Regions from separate parts of the Homo sapiens genome. Here region 2 is linked to region 1. Evidence: promoter capture Hi-C in 16 types of primary human blood cells and fetal thymus (Javierre and others, 2016). All regions are on one chromosome and are shown on one strand. The core of a region is centred on a gene start or on the middle of the fragment in contact, and the rest is flanking DNA. Distances in the headings are between cores, read along the strand shown. Region 1 holds the start of AKAP8 (A-kinase anchoring protein 8). Region 2 overlaps CYP4F22 (cytochrome P450 family 4 subfamily F member 22).

Region 1 (7,665 bases), core at 4,511-7,010:
TGGTGTTCTGGGCGCCATAGTAATTGTAGTTTTCATAACCTGTCACAGGGGGAGGAGCCAAGTCAGACTTCAGCAGCCACGAGGCCTGTCCATGGTGGACACAACCGGGGAGGGGCACCCGCTGCCACGGAGAAGGAAAACGGGTGTGGGACCCAGTGCTGCTGGCATCACTTCACACTGCACTGTGACCTGCCAAGAGGCAGCAGGAGGTGGCCAGAGAAAGGGGCAGCCTCAGTGCCGAGCGGCGGGTTTTCCATGCCAGACGCTAGGACCTGTTCCCCATTCAAAGCCGGGTGACTGAGAGCCTGGGAACAGCAGTTCCGGCTGCTGACAGGCCCCACAAAGGACCGCTGCTCCCAAAGCACGGTCGCAGTCCTCCCCATCATGCTCCCCTGAGGCCGCCCACCACAGCCCTCTGCAGTCCCCCCATATACACAACAGCAGCCGTGGCTGACTGCGTCCTCAGGAACAGAGCCAGAAAGTCCACGCCAGACCTCCCTGACGGGCTGACCCGCCTGGCCTTCAGATCAGAGGCCCACTTGCCCGCCCACAGACCCCCCCCACAGAAGGGCTTACCTTGCCAGCTGGCCACACCAGTTCCATATGCACCTTAGGGGAAACAGAAACACACAAGAGCCCTGTTTGCAGAACGAAGGCACTGACACCCCAGCTGTCACCTTGCTCCACCCTCCACAGCCCCAGGGCCAGGGCTTCCCTCCGCAGCGCTCAGGGAGACACCCTTGGGTGTTTTTAGCTCACTCAACTCCTACAGAGCACTAGGCTGAGAGGCTGAGCACAAGCAAGCCCTCTATCCCGGGCAAGGCCAACCGTCCGTCAGGGCAAGGGAAGGGACGCCGCACGCTCCCCAGGAAGCTCGTCCACTGTGGGCTGCTGGCCAAGAGGTTGGCCAGGCCAGGCCCCAGGCAGAGACCTCGTAAAGGGTCAGTTCCCATCAGAAGCCAGAGTGCAGGCGCTGCCAACTGCACAGCGAAGCATTGGTGCAAAGTCACGTCCTCAACTCAAGCGAAAAAGAGGACGTTATGTGCCACGAGCGACTTGGAAGGCCTCCTCCTGAAACACCGGGTGGTGGCTCAAAAGCAGCCCCACTCCCCATGTTGCCTGAGTCAGATCTCAGGCTCAGAAAACAAAGGAAGCCCTCGTGCCCTAAAACACGGGCTGGCAGAAAGGAGAAAGCCTCGCCAGCAGAGAGCATGCACTGGTTCGCCACACAAGCCTAGCATCATGGCCCTGACTCTAAAGCAGGGATCTGCAAAAAGTCCAGCCACACCCAGCCCACTTCCCGCCTTGGCACAGCCCTTAGGATTTTCGAATTTCGGTGCCCATAAATAAGTACCAGCACACTGCCCGTAGCCCTGTGCTCTCAGGCTCTGCCCTCAGCTAAGGATGAATTTTACGTTTTTAAATGGTTGGGGTAAAGTTTCTAAAGTGTATTCAATGACAAATTTTGACATGAGATACATCACTTACACACTGGATCAAAACTCAGAGAACTATACAAATTAACAAAAACTATGAGCTATAGTGAATAATATCACATCAACATTGCCTGATTAATTGTAACAAATGCATCACACCAATGCAAGATTTTTTTTTTGTTTTTTTTTTTTGAGATGGAGTCTCGCTCTGTTGCATGGGCTGAAGTGCAGTGGCGCGATCTCGGCTCACTGCAAGCTCCACCTCCTGGGTTCACGCCATTCTCCTGTCTCAGCCTCCGGAGTAGCTGGGACTACAGGCGCCCGCCACCGCGCCCGGCTAATTTTTTTTGTATTTTTAGTAGAGACGGGGTTTCACTGTGTTAGCCAGGATGGTCTCGATCTCCTGACCTCGTGATCTGCCCGCCTCGGCCTCCCAAAATGCTGGGATTACAGGCGTGAGCCACCGTGCCTGGCCTTTTTTTTTTTGAGACAGGGTCGTGCTCTGTCACCCAGGCTGGAGTACAGTGGCATAATCACAGCTCACTGCAGCCTTACCTCCTGGGCTCAAGCAATCTTCCTATCTCAGCCTTCTGAGTGGCCGGGACTACAGGCACGCACTGCCACGCCCCACTAATTTTTCATTAGTTGGATAAAAGGATCACTTGAGCTCGGGTCTCGAACTCCCAGGCTCAAGTGAGCCTCTTGCCTCAGCCTCCCAAAGTGCTGGGATTGCAGGCGTGTGCTGCCTCGCCCAGCTAATGAAAGATCTTACTAATGAGGCCAGGCGTGGTGGCTCACGCCTGTAATCCCAGCACTTTGATTATGGGATTGATTATGAGGTCAGGAGTTCGAGACCAGCTTGGCCAACATGGTAAAACCCTGTCTCTACTAAAAATACAAAAATTAGCTGGGCGCAGTGGTGGGTGCCTGTAATCCCAGCTACTCGGGAGGCTGCGGCTGCAGTAAGCCGAGATCACACCACTGCACTCCAGCCTGGGCAACAGAGCAAGACTCTGTATCAAAAGAAAAAAAAATCATACTAATGAGATTTTTAGTACACTCACTACAGGTGTAGTGTACACTCAGTACACCTGAGTGGAGGTGGGTGGGCGTATGAAACTCCACTACTCAATCTAAAGCTGTACTAAAAAGTCTGGTAATTATAGAGAAAAAACACCTCGGATATACCCTCAGCTATTTACTCAGAATAACAAAAATATTTTGCCAAAATAGAGTATTCACTAACACGCAAAAATTAGGAACTTCAAATTGTATTGTCTGTAAGTAACTACTGGCATTGTCCCATCCACTCTTTCACACATTTATGACTGCTTTCCTGCTACAGAGACTGTGGAGCCCATAAAGCCACAAAGATATTCACTATCTGATCTTTTACACAAAGTTTGCTGACCCCTGGGCTACTACTCTCCCTTGACCCAAGTTCAGCTCTGCCATGCTAGGGCCTTGAGTTAGGGGAAGCCCACGCCTCACCCGCAAAGCAGAGCCCACTTACCCTGGGTGTTGGCAGGTCCAGCACTCCACGCCCCGTAGCCTGCAAGAAGACCCCGTGAGTTAAAATTCTATTTGTCACACCAGAGAACGGGTCCTTTTGGGGGTACTCCTAAAGGGATCTCCTTACAGTTCAGTGCCAGCCTTAGAAGAAGGAAGACTCCCCCCCACCCCACCAAAAAAAAGCCATCACACAACTGGCTAATGGCGTCATCGCATTCCACCTGGCTGAGATCAAAGCAGAAAAAGAAGGGTGGGAAGTGGGCTTGGAAGTCAGCTCCGCCCTGCAGAGGGACCTTGGCCAAGGACCTCACCTCTCCAAGATTTCATCCACAACTGAGGCTAACACAAGACAATCCACTCAGCATGAGGACACGTTCCCCCACCCACCACACAGCTAGGAAACCAGTTCAGAGTGCCATCACAAGTACTTCGTAACTGAAAACAAGCATGGGAATTTAGTGACATAAATTGCATCTTTCTAAGCTGCACTTCCTGCCACTTTTTGTTTTTTTGAGGCGGGGTCTTGCTCTGTTGCCCAGGTTAGAGCGCAGTGCCGCGATCTCGGCTCACTGCAAGCTCCGCCTCCTGGGTTCACGCCATTCTCCTGCCTCAGCCTCCCGAGTAGCTGGGACTACAGGCGCCTGCCACCACGCCCGCCTAATTTTTTGTGTTTTTAGTAGAGACGGGGTTTCACCATGTTAGCCAGGATGGTCTCGATCTCCTGACCTCGTGATCCGCCAGCCTCGGCCTCCCAAAGTGCTGGGATTACAGGCGTGAGTCACCGCGCCAGGCCCTTCCTGCCACTTTTAAGGCCTCCACGGATCCCCTGGACCTTTAAGTCCCAGAGCCTTCGCCTGGCCCTAAGGCATCAGACAGCACTCTTCACCCCTCCACACCCCCCGCCCACTATGGCATCTGTCTGGTCCCTCCAGGAAGGAGAATGGGAACTGTGTTCTCTTTATTTCTGTGTCCCTGGGGCCCAGCACTGAGCTGCGCGCGGGTGGCCACCATGCCTGTTAAATGACTTCACTTTGATGAGGCAGGAACATATCCATGTCTCCCTCACCAGAACAACTCCCCCGCCCCCGGCTAAGTGCCTAGTGCGTGCCGATACACCGCAAGCACCCAGCAAACCCTGTTGTCCGGAATGCCATTCAGAGACAAGGGAGCTAGGCTCATGGGTTACGAGACTTGACCCAGTCATACTGCTGAGTTTTGCCCTCTGCTATGCTACGCCTTCCCCTCCGTCATACCGCAAAACCTTCTAAATTCGCATCCGTGCAGCAGAAAGGCAGACTGCAGATTCCAACAGCAAGTAACCAACCTCGAGAGACTGCTTCTCTGTGAAGCTCTAGTGTAAGTGGCACGCACTATTAACCTTAAAACGCTCCCGGAAACACAAGAAATCAGGGAAGCTTAACTATCTCCAGTGTGTCTGAAAGGTTTTCGGCAGGTAGGAAGAGGGGGTAAAAAAAACCTCTCCAAACTAAGAATGAAAAGAAGGAATACAATACCTGCAGAAAAGATCTGATGGGAAAGAAGGGAAAGAATGGTGAAATCTACCCAGGCTGCGGAAGACCAGGAGAGCCAGGCTGAGCCTTCGCTAGGACCCGGAAGACACCAAAGCACACCGCGCACGCTGCCGCCTCAGGACCGAAACCTCTCTCTGCAATTTCTGGTGCTGGGATACTTTTGCCCTGCCACTTCTCAAGATCGACAACTTCTCGAGCTCCTGCAGCCAGGATCAGACCACTAGCTTCTCTACAACCAGTCGAGCTCCACCCAGCATGTCCCAACTATCCCCTGTGGGCAAACTTTGCTCCCAAAAGGCTCTGATTCCAGAAGCAGGGAGCAGGCAGCTCGAGAAGATCGGCCCTACTGCAGGCCAAGCGCTAAATCCTAGTGGGGAAAGGACACGTTCCCTCCTGCACAGCCCCTCGGCCCCTCCAGGCCACCACAACAGACTGCCTAAAGGAGAACTGCCAATGTCACCAGCCCCAGGGCACATCAGGTTTCCAGCTTTATACGAACACTCAGCATCTGCCCCTCACCATCCTGTCCCAAGCCAGCACGCGCCGGGTACAGAGCTGGAGCCCGGCGAGGCTGACTCTCGCGCCGGCAGCACTCGGCCCCACCGCGCTGCACCGGGGACTAAAGGCCCGACCCCGCGCAGCCCGACGGCTTCCGGGACAGGCGCCCTGGGCCACGTGAGCCCAGCGGAGACCCTACACGGCCCCGCGGGCCTAGGGCAGGTCGGGAGAGAGGCGGCCCCCGCGGTCCGCCCGCGGCCCCAGACCCAGCTCCCCGGGTCCGACCTCACAACCCCACGCTGTAGCTCCGCCCCCCTAGCGCCGCCATTTTGTGGCGTCTTCGGAAGAGGAAGCCGGGAGTGCAAACCCCGGGGTCGCTGGGGGCCGGAAGGACTCCGCCGAAGGTGAGGGGCAAAAACGGCCCACACTGTCTAAGACGCCCCCACGAAGCCCACCGCGGCGTCTGCCCCAACCCCGAGTCCCGCCCGCCTCCTCGGGGCCTGGCGGCCAATCCGCACGCAGAGCCCCGGGAGCGACGGCGCCAAAGCCCAATGAGCGGCGCGCGCGCGCCCTGGCCGCCTCTCCGGAGGGCCCAGCTGGGGCAACCACGCTCGGGACGAAGGCCCGGCCGGCGGCAGTCTGCGCAGCGGCTGCGTCGCCCGCACAGAGCCTTCCCTCCCCGCTCCGCACCCAGCAGCCAACACAAACCTCCGTAGCCCTGGTCCATGTCTTCGACGCGGCCCACCAGCAGCCCCGTTTACTAGGCGACCACAGCACGCATGCGTTCAGCGCACCTCCGCCATCGACTACTGGAAGACCAGGCGCACACGTCACTACTTCCGCGCGCCCCCATTGGCTGGTCTTCACGAGGGCCCGCCCTCGCCGTCCCAGCTGGCCTTTCGGGCTGCTACGATCCAGCTCCGTGGCCTAATGGGAGTTGTGGTCCCACCGCGGTGCCCGACGGCCCGGCCCGCGCGCATGCGCACCCCGCCCCTCTGCCCACCCCGCCCCGCCCGCGCGGCACAGTAACAGAGAAACCCGGAGGTGGGATGGGAAAACTTTATTAGGTTTGGTTTCCAGCTTCGGCCACGCGGGCTCCGCCCGCCCCGAGCTCGGGTCACGGGGCGCCCCCGCCGCCCTCCTCGTCGTCCTCCACGTCGAGGCCCGGGATGCCGCGGATCTGGCGTTGCAGCGCCCCTCCCAGCAAGGGCACGGCGCCCTCCTCCTCCTCCTCTGGGGGCGGCGGCGGTGGCGGCGACACGGCCCCGGGGGCTGGCTCTGGGGGCACGGGAGGCTGCGCCGGCACGCCCTCTGCGCCCTCCGAGATCCCTGCCGCTTCGCCCTGCGCCCCCTCGTCCAGGGCACCGCCCTCAGCCTCCTCCTGCTCCTTCTCCTCCTCGGGGCTGTCGGTGAAAGGGTTCTCGCCCTGTGGGGAGGGGCGCGGACACTGAAGGGAGGGAGCACAGGCGGGGACTAAGCTGGGGACAGGGCAGGCCCGGACCAGTGCCTCACCTTCAGGTAGCGCTCCAGCTTCTTGCTGATGAGCTTGTTGTTGAGAATACTGCGGGCCACCATGAGGGAGGACTTCTTGGACTGCTCCATCATGAGCTGCGGGCAGGGCAGAAGGAGCTGGAGAGGCTGCTCTGAGTGCCCTACAAGTTGCTGCCCCGACCCTGCCAGCTTAGAGGGACCCCACCCCGCCCCTGCACCCACGCACTTCCAGCCCCACCAACGGAGGGCCACTCCACAAGCATGGAACCACAACCTATCTGATCTTTGTTCAAATTCCCTCTCCTTCCACACCACACTTACTGTAGGTAAATAAAAATACAGATCTATATATCTCTAACTTTACGGCTGTATTACAGAAATCTGATTTGCTTACAAAAAAGCTATAAGCAGTGAACAATTAAGAAACTAAGAGCCAAAGGTGGGTGCAACCTGTAACAAGGTGCCAACTAGGCTAATAGGCAAGGAGCACTTTGGGGCCAACGGGGAAGATATAAAAACAGGAACAGATATTTAATGAAACGTCTTTTTTAACCCACAGAATTCCAAGAATGAAGAATTATTCCCAGTCATGCAAGGGTGAAGAGAGTCTTCTCTGCTGGTGGGAGGATCAACTGTTTCCGTATTTTTTGGAAAGCAGTTTGACACAATGTATGAAAAGTAAAAATCTGTCTCATTAATCCCTTCCCAGAACGTATCCTAAATTTAAGAACTGGAAACATGCGTGCACACTGATTGTAGTGGTGAAAAATGGGAAAACACCTAAACGTTCCTCAGTGCAGAAGAGGTTAAATAAATCGTACATTCAAAAGAACATCATGCAGCCCTTCAAATCGGGCTCATCTCTGCACTGGCATAAGAAAGGTGTATAATATAGTACTGTCTGCAGAGCATGCCAGAGCCATTTTGTCTGGAAGGATTTCCATCAATATGCTGGGCCATCTCATGGTGGGAGTACAGGCAAATCTCACTTTGATCATTATAAAAACCATAAGGTAAAAGAAGGATATTTTTGGTGGGGTGGGAGAGCCCATTGAGTCCTTCCCACTCCATTTACATGTTTCAGAAAGCCTTCTCACTTGCTGTTTCTACTCTCTCCATCTTCATTTTTTTTTTTCCTTAGCACGTTTTCTCTACTACTGGAGGAAAATATTAACAGACATCATACATGCTCACAA
Region 2 (7,177 bases), core at 2,811-5,310, 170 kb after region 1:
TGATTCTGGGTGATGAAAAGAAAACACAGCATTAGGCTGGGCGTGGTGGCTCATGCCTGTAATTCCAGCACTTTGGGAGGCCGAGGGGGGTGGATTGCTTGAGCTGAGGTGTTTGAGACCAGCCTGGGCAACATGACGAAACCCTGTCTCTACAAAAAAATACAAAAATTAGCTGGGTGGGGTGGCGCATGCCTATAGTCCCAGCTACTTGGGAGGCTGAGGTGGGAGGACTGCTTGAACCCAGGAGGTGGAGGCTGTGGTGAGTCAAGATTACGCCACTGCACTCCAGCCTGGGTGACAGAGTGAGACCCTGTCTCAAAAAAAAAAAAAAAAAAAAAAAGAAAAGAAAAGAAAAGAAAAGAAGAAAAACACAGCCGCAACATTAAATAGCATCAACTCACACAGTGAGGAGGTTCCTTTCGGTTCTATTTCAACCTTTTGCCTTATGGCCTCAGGGGGACATGCTCAGTGGGGTGCTACTGTGTCCTGAACACTTTGCTAATCTTCCTTTTAAACAAGTGGAGAAGATGTCTCAGGTTGAGAGAGTTGGGTGGGAGTTGGTGTGTAGACACAATTTAATAACACACTACTGCTTTCACAGTGGTGTTTGTATGGATGAATACCTTTATGCCAGGGATGCTGTTTGCCCTTTATAGCAACATGAAGTTTATTTTTTTTTAAGACACAGGCTGGAGTGCAGTGGCATAATCATAGCTCACTGCAGCCTCAAACTCCTGGGCTCAGGCAATCTTCCTGCCTCAGCCTCCTGAGTAGGTGGGACTATAGGAGTGTGCCACCACAACTGGCTAATTTTTAACATTTTTTTAAGAGATGGGGACTTGCTGTGTTGCCCAGGCTGCTCTCAAATCCCTGAGTGCAAGCAGTCCTCTTACTTTGGCCTCCCAAAGTGCTGGGATTATAGGTGTGAGCCACTGTGCCCAGCCATAAAGTTTCTTTGAAAGAGAACCTGGGCCAGGTGCAGTGGCTCATGCCTGTAATCCCAGCACTTTGGGAGGCTAAGGCGGGTGGATCACTTGAGGCCAGAAATTCAAGACCAACCTGGGCAACATGGTGAAACCCTGTCTCTACTAAAAATACAAAAATTAGCTGGGCGTATTGGTGTGTGCCTGTAATCCCAGCTGCTTGAGAAGCTGAGGCGTGAGAATTGCTTGAACCTGGGAAGCAGAGGTTGCAGTGAGCTGAGATTGTGCCACTGCACTCCTGCCTGGATGAAACAGCAAGACGCCATCAAAAAAGAAAGAGAACCTGCTAATTTAAAGAAACTAATCTAATCTAGAACATGAACCAAGAGTTATCATTAGCCCAATTTTGGGCCCTAAAGTCCAAGGGAAAAAATATTAAGTAAATGATATTATAAGGAGATAATGCACTTTTCTTTTCTTTCTTTTTTCTTTTTTTCTTTCTTTCTTTTTTTGAGATAGGCTCTCACACTGTGGCCCAGGCTGGAGTACAGTGGCATGATCATAGCTCACTACAGCCTCCTGAGTAGCTGGGACCACAGGTGTGTGCCATCATGCCCAGCTAATTTTTTAACTTTTGGTAGAGATGGGGTCTCTCTTTGTTGCCCAGGCTGGTCACGAACTCCTGGGCTCAAGTTATCCACTTGCTTCGGCCTCCCAAAGTGCTGGGATTACAGGTATGAGCCACCATGCCTGGCCTGCACCAGTTTTTTTTTTTTTTTTTTTTTTAAGACAAGAGTCTCACTCTGTCACCCAGGCTAGAGTGTAGTGGTGCAATCTCATCTCACTGCAACCTCCGCCTTCCGGGTTCAAGCAATTCTCTTGCCTCGGCCTCCCAAGTAGCTGAGACTACAGGTGCACGCCACCACACCCAGCTAATTTTTGTGTTTTTTAGTAAAGATGGGGTTTTGCTATGTTGGCCAGACTGATCTTGAACTCCTGACCTCAGACGATCGCCCATCTCAGCCTCTGCAAGTGCTGGGATTACAGGCGAGAGCCACCACACCTGTCCTGCAGCAGTTTTTTAAGTACAGAAATGGACCATATAAACTGGCATATTGCTGTTGCCGTGAGTCCCCTTGGCTGTCCTGGCACCTCGCCTAGGTGCCCCTGGACCTCCACATAATTCATCAATTAAAGGCTTAATGCTGGGCCCAGCAGAGGGCCCAGTGCTAGTGCTGTTCTGAGCGGTTGGTGCTCAGATACTTTGCATCCTAAGTATTAGTACTGGCCGGGCACTGTGGCTCACGTTTGTAATCCCAGCACTTTGGGAGGCCGAGGTGGGTGGATTGCCTGAGGTCAGGCGTTTGAGACCAGCCTGGCCAACATGGAGAAACCCTGTCTCTACTAAAAATACAAAAATTAGCCGGGTGTGGGTGCGCATGCCTGTAATCCCAGCTACTTGGGAGGCTGAGGCAAGAAAATTGCTTGAACCTGCAAGGCTGAGGTTGCAGTGACCCGAGATGCGCCACTATGTTCTAGCCTGGGCAACAAGAGCGAAACTCGGTCTTAAAAAAAAAAAAGAAAGAAAAAGGAAAAGAAAAAACAAAAAAACCACTAAATATTAGTACTTCCCACCTGTGCATGAGACAACTGCAAATGGCAGAAATTGGGGCAAGTCTAAAATCCTGGACTGGTTTCTTGCCCAGCTGCCCCTGAGAGAGAGAGAGAGAGAGAGAGAGAGGGAGAGAGTGTGTGTGTGTGTGTGTGTGTGTGTGTGTGTGTGTGTGTGTGTGTGTTTTGGGGAGGTGGTGCCATGGTGGCTCGGCCTCTAGTTATATCTCCATTCTCCCCAGGGACGATCTGACTCAGCTGCCCTTTACAACTATGTGCATTAAGGAGAGCCTGCGCCAGTACCCACCTGTCACTCTTGTCTCTCGCCAATGCACGGAGGACATCAAGCTCCCAGATGGGCGCATCATCCCCAAAGGTGCCTACCATGTTCCGCCTGCTGCTGGTGCACTGCCTCCAATGATGTAGCTGCTCTATTGTCCACAGGGGCCTGGCTATGCCTGCCCCAGGTGCACTATCCCTGCAGATGGGATAGCTCTCTGTGTGCCTGTTGCTTCTGGGGTGTTGGAGAAAACCCAGTTGTGTGTGCAGGGAGATAGAGCCGGGTGAGTCCAGGTGGAAAGGAAGGAGGCAGTGTCGCAGGGATGGGCCTGTGAGGGTGCAGTTGGGGAGGGTCAGTTTCATTCAGTTGCCAGTTACTCCCTGGAGACCAAGCCCTGCCTTGGTTGATACAGGGGACCCTGGCTCAGGTTTTGAGTATTGCCCTTTCTGGGGGAGATACAGCAGGGTGCAGACATTCCCAGGCGTATGGAATCAGGAATGGGCTAAAGGGAGAGACAGGGGCTGGAGTAGCTCCAATATGGAGAGGAATGCAGGGAGGGCTGCCTGGAGGAGGGAATGTGGGAGGTGAGGCTTGGAGTGTGGAAGTGAAAGAGTGAGCATGTTTATGGAGTAGAGCCTCAGGATGCAGATTTTGAAAGGCCTTGAGTGCCAGGTGATGGCGCTTGAACTCAATCCTGGGGGCAGCAGGGAGCCAAGGTAGGTGTTTGAGCTGAAGAGGAGCAATGTCAGATCTGCGAGTAAGAAAGATCCCTATGTGGCCAGCTTGGCAGCCAGAAAGAAGATGATAGGTTCCTCTTAGGGAAAGGTGGGAAGAGTGGATGGGGCAGCAGAATTTTTTAGAGAAGGATGGACAGAAGGTGGTGGCAGATGGCTCATGGGAACATCATGGCTCTAGGGAGACCCAAGTTGGGGGATGTTTCTGGAGGAGGCCCTGGCTCCCCTTGGCCCCACTGATCCCATCTTTCCCCACAGGAATCATCTGCTTGGTCAGCATCTATGGAACCCACCACAACCCCACAGTGTGGCCTGACTCCAAGGTGAGTGCCTGCCCCACTCCTCCCTGCCCTCAGGTCCTCCCCTCCCCTGCGCCCCAGGGAGCCAGCGAGCAGGGCTGGTTGCAGGGCCTGAGTGCGCACACCCCTCCCCACTCCGCATTTAGCCATTTATTCACCCACTGATTGTTAATTCATTAGGGCAGAAAATATTTATTGAGCACCTACTGTGTGCCAGAGTGTGTGCTGGGCTCTGAAAATAGAGGATGATACTGTCTTTGCCTTTACAGGGCTCACAGTGAAGTTTTGGGGAAGACAATAAGCAAATAAATAAGATTTTGGGTATTGATACATGCACAAAAGAAAGAAAAACTGGGCCAGTTCCGGTTTACAGGTGCAGTGGCTCACACTTGTAATCCCAGCACTTTGAGAGGCTAAGGTGGGAGAATCGCTTGGGCCCAGGAGTTTGAGACCAGCCTGGGCAACACAGCGAGACCCCCCATCTCTACCAAAAAGGAAAAAGTTGGCCCAATGTGGTGGCTTGTGTCTGTAATCCCAGTGCTTTGGGAGACCAAGATGGGAAGATTGTTTGAGGCCAGAAGTTCCAGCTCAGCCCAGCCTGGGCAACACAGTGAGACCCCATTTCTAAAAAAAAAAAAAGTTAGCCAGCCATGGTGATGCACATCTGCAGTGCCAGCCACTCGGGAGGCTGAGGCAGGAGGATCGCTTGGGCCCAGCAGTTTGAGGCTGCAATGAGCTATGGTTATTTATTTATTTATTTATTTGAGACTGGGTCTTGCTCTGTTGCCCAAGCTGGAGCGTGTGCAGTGGTGCGATCTTGGCTCACTGCAACTTCTACCTCCTGGGTTCAAGAGATTCTCCTGCCTCAGCTTTCTGAGTAGTTGGGATTACAGGTGTGTGCCACCATGCCTGGCTAATTTTTTTGTATTTTTAGTAGAGATGGGGTTTCACCATGTTGGCCAGGCTGGTCTTGAACTCCTGAGCTCAGATGATCCATCTGCCTTGGCCTCCCAAAGTGCTGGGATTACAAGCGTGAGCCACCGCGCCCAGCCTGCAATGAGCTATGATCGCGCTTCTGCACTCCAGCCTGAGTGAGACTCTGACTCTAACAAACAAACAAACAAACAAAGACAGACAAACAAACAAAAAAAAAGAAAAACAGGTGGAGGGGGCACTTTAGCTCGAGTGGTTATGAAAGGCCTTGCCGAGGAGATGTTTGAGCTGAGAACTTAGGGGATGAAGGATCAGGGAGAAGCCTGTTCTAGGCAGAGGAAACAGCAAGTGCAAAGGCCCTGAGGTGGAATCTCACTGGTGCGTGTGAACAACAGAAGGAGGCAGGTGTGGCTGCATTGCAGGAAGTGCAAGGTGGAATGGAAGAGGTGGCCCTGGGGTGCTCCCCATCCATCTTTACTGACCCCCAGAGGCTCAGGGAAGGGGGCCAGGCTGGGATGTCTGGGGCAGCCCCCAGACTCATCTCCAGGCTGTTCCTCCCTAGGTGTACAACCCCTACCGCTTTGACCCGGACAACCCACAGCAGCGCTCTCCACTGGCCTATGTGCCCTTCTCTGCAGGACCCAGGTAACCCCTCTATTTCCCCTAGTCCAAGCCAGCTGTGTAGGAACAGAGGCAGGGAAAGATCAGGAATGTGCCTCTCAGGAGCAGAGATCAGATGGCACCCAGGCGTCCTTTCTGAAGACCCAGCACCCTCTCCCCAATGCGCCAGGAGGCCCCCAAATCAGACTCTGCAATAGCATCCTGGGTATTGAGCACCAACGGTGTGTCAGGCCCTGAGTTCTGGGCTCCCACGCTCCCATTGGCTCTATGATGCCTTTGTCCCCGTTTTTACAGATGAAGGAACTGAGACTCAGAGGGGGCGCTGTGTATCCAGGACACACAGCTAGTAAGAGGCTGTACTGGGATTCAGACACTCAACCCCAAGGTCACATTAATTGAGCGATCCGTGGGGTCTCACTTTAACCCTCACCCAGCGTGGGGTTTCACTTTAACCCTCAGCCAGCCCAGGATGCTTGCTTCATTTTCAAAGGAGGCATGTGACCCCCGGGGACCAGTGCTCACACAGAAGCTGGGCCTGAGCCCTGTCCCCTCTTCCTCCAGGAATTGCATCGGACAGAGCTTCGCCATGGCCGAGTTGCGCGTGGTTGTGGCACTAACACTGCTACGTTTCCGCCTGAGCGTGGACCGAACGCGCAAGGTGCGGCGGAAGCCGGAGCTCATACTGCGCACGGAGAACGGGCTCTGGCTCAAGGTGGAGCCGCTGCCTCCGCGGGCCTGAGCGTGGGCGCGCCCCTGCGGCTCCCGAGGGTCCAGGCCCCGCCCCCAAAGGACCAGGACTCGCCCCAAAGATCCCGAGGGCATAGGCCACCCCCCTCGAAGTTCAGGTTCAGCTCCTGGATGACCAGGCACCGCTGTTGAGCAGCCTGGTGGTACTGGCCACGCCCCTCAAGGCAAGGCTCCTCCCCTTAGGGGGCCTGATCCCGCCCCTTGAGGCTTAGGTCCCGCCCCCTGACTTCTCGCACCTGTCCTGTTTGAGGGACCAGGGTCGACCCTGCCCCCTTGGGCTCAGGCCCCGCCCCCAGGATCCTACGGATTGAGGTCCTCAGGCCACGCCCCTGCAGATCCAGGTCTCCAGGCCTTGCCCACTGAGCCTTCAGAGGACCTAAGACCCACCTATGACTCAGGGCCCACCACACCCCACCCCCCCCCAACTGGCTGAACCCCTGGCAGGCTTCCAAACTGAGGAAAGCTGGAGCCTGACGTCAGAGCTTTTAACTCGGACATCACCCTCCTGAGGCCCTCAGCTCATACGGGCAGACTGCTCAGGCGTGAGGCTGGATCGTAGGGTTCGAGGCTGCTTGCTTTTGTTGTTGTTTTGTAAACTCAGACCCTTGTAAGCCCCTTCCTTCCTCCCTTGCCCAAAGATCCTTTGCTGAGTGTTCTGTTTTTGCAGAATAAAAGCAAAGGATGCAGACTTACCCCACCCTCCACCCCTAGCTCAGCCAGATCCTTACACGTGGAGCCCCCAGCATGGGAATGAGGGGCTCTGCAACTGAGCGAAGCTGCGGGCTAGGAGGCTGGAAAGCCATTTATCCTAGGACATAAACTCAGATTTTGGGGGTCAGTTTGTGTGTTCATTTATTTCATCAACAGATCACATATTGTTTGCTGGCACTGCTTCAGAACCACAGGCAGGCCCTGTTTTCTGCCTTCTTAGGGGGTGGGGGACAGATGTTGAACAAATAATTCCACGTGTAAAGGTTTATTTACAACCCAGGACAGGTGCTCCAAAGGAGAGGCCCCGGGTGCTGGATG

The links. The method cuts DNA at HindIII sites, captures the fragments that hold promoters and counts their contacts. A CHiCAGO score of 5 or more calls a contact.
Region 2: a contact is called between a fragment that was not itself captured here and the fragment with the promoter of AKAP8 in region 1, in 1 of 17 cell types (activated CD4 T cells). The highest score is 5.1, in activated CD4 T cells.

What each region holds. Positions count from the first base shown.
Region 1 is chr19:15,374,027-15,381,691 of GRCh38, forward strand. It overlaps AKAP8 (A-kinase anchoring protein 8), which reads right to left and starts at 5,761. Exons shown (of 14, transcript NM_005858.4): 1 at 5,687-5,761; 2 at 2,950-2,988; 3 at 577-609; 4 at 1-39. The coding sequence starts at 5,705. It overlaps AKAP8L (A-kinase anchoring protein 8 like), which reads right to left. Exons shown (of 14, transcript NM_014371.4): 13 at 6,491-6,586; 14 at 6,024-6,404. The coding sequence ends at 6,096. RefSeq lists enhancers at 4,902-5,817, 5,752-6,046, 5,818-6,732 and silencers at 5,007-5,556, 5,897-6,386. The HindIII fragment of the contact is 7,918 bases long and covers 4,362-7,665 here.
Region 2 is chr19:15,545,332-15,552,508 of GRCh38, forward strand. It overlaps CYP4F22 (cytochrome P450 family 4 subfamily F member 22), which reads left to right. Exons shown (of 14, transcript NM_173483.4): 11 at 2,777-2,910; 12 at 3,807-3,871; 13 at 5,343-5,425; 14 at 5,963-6,986. The coding sequence ends at 6,140. Among named protein-coding and RNA genes, the nearest start is that of CYP4F22, 40 kb to the left of the region's middle. RefSeq lists a silencer at 6,235-6,284. The HindIII fragment of the contact is 9,249 bases long and covers 1-7,177 here.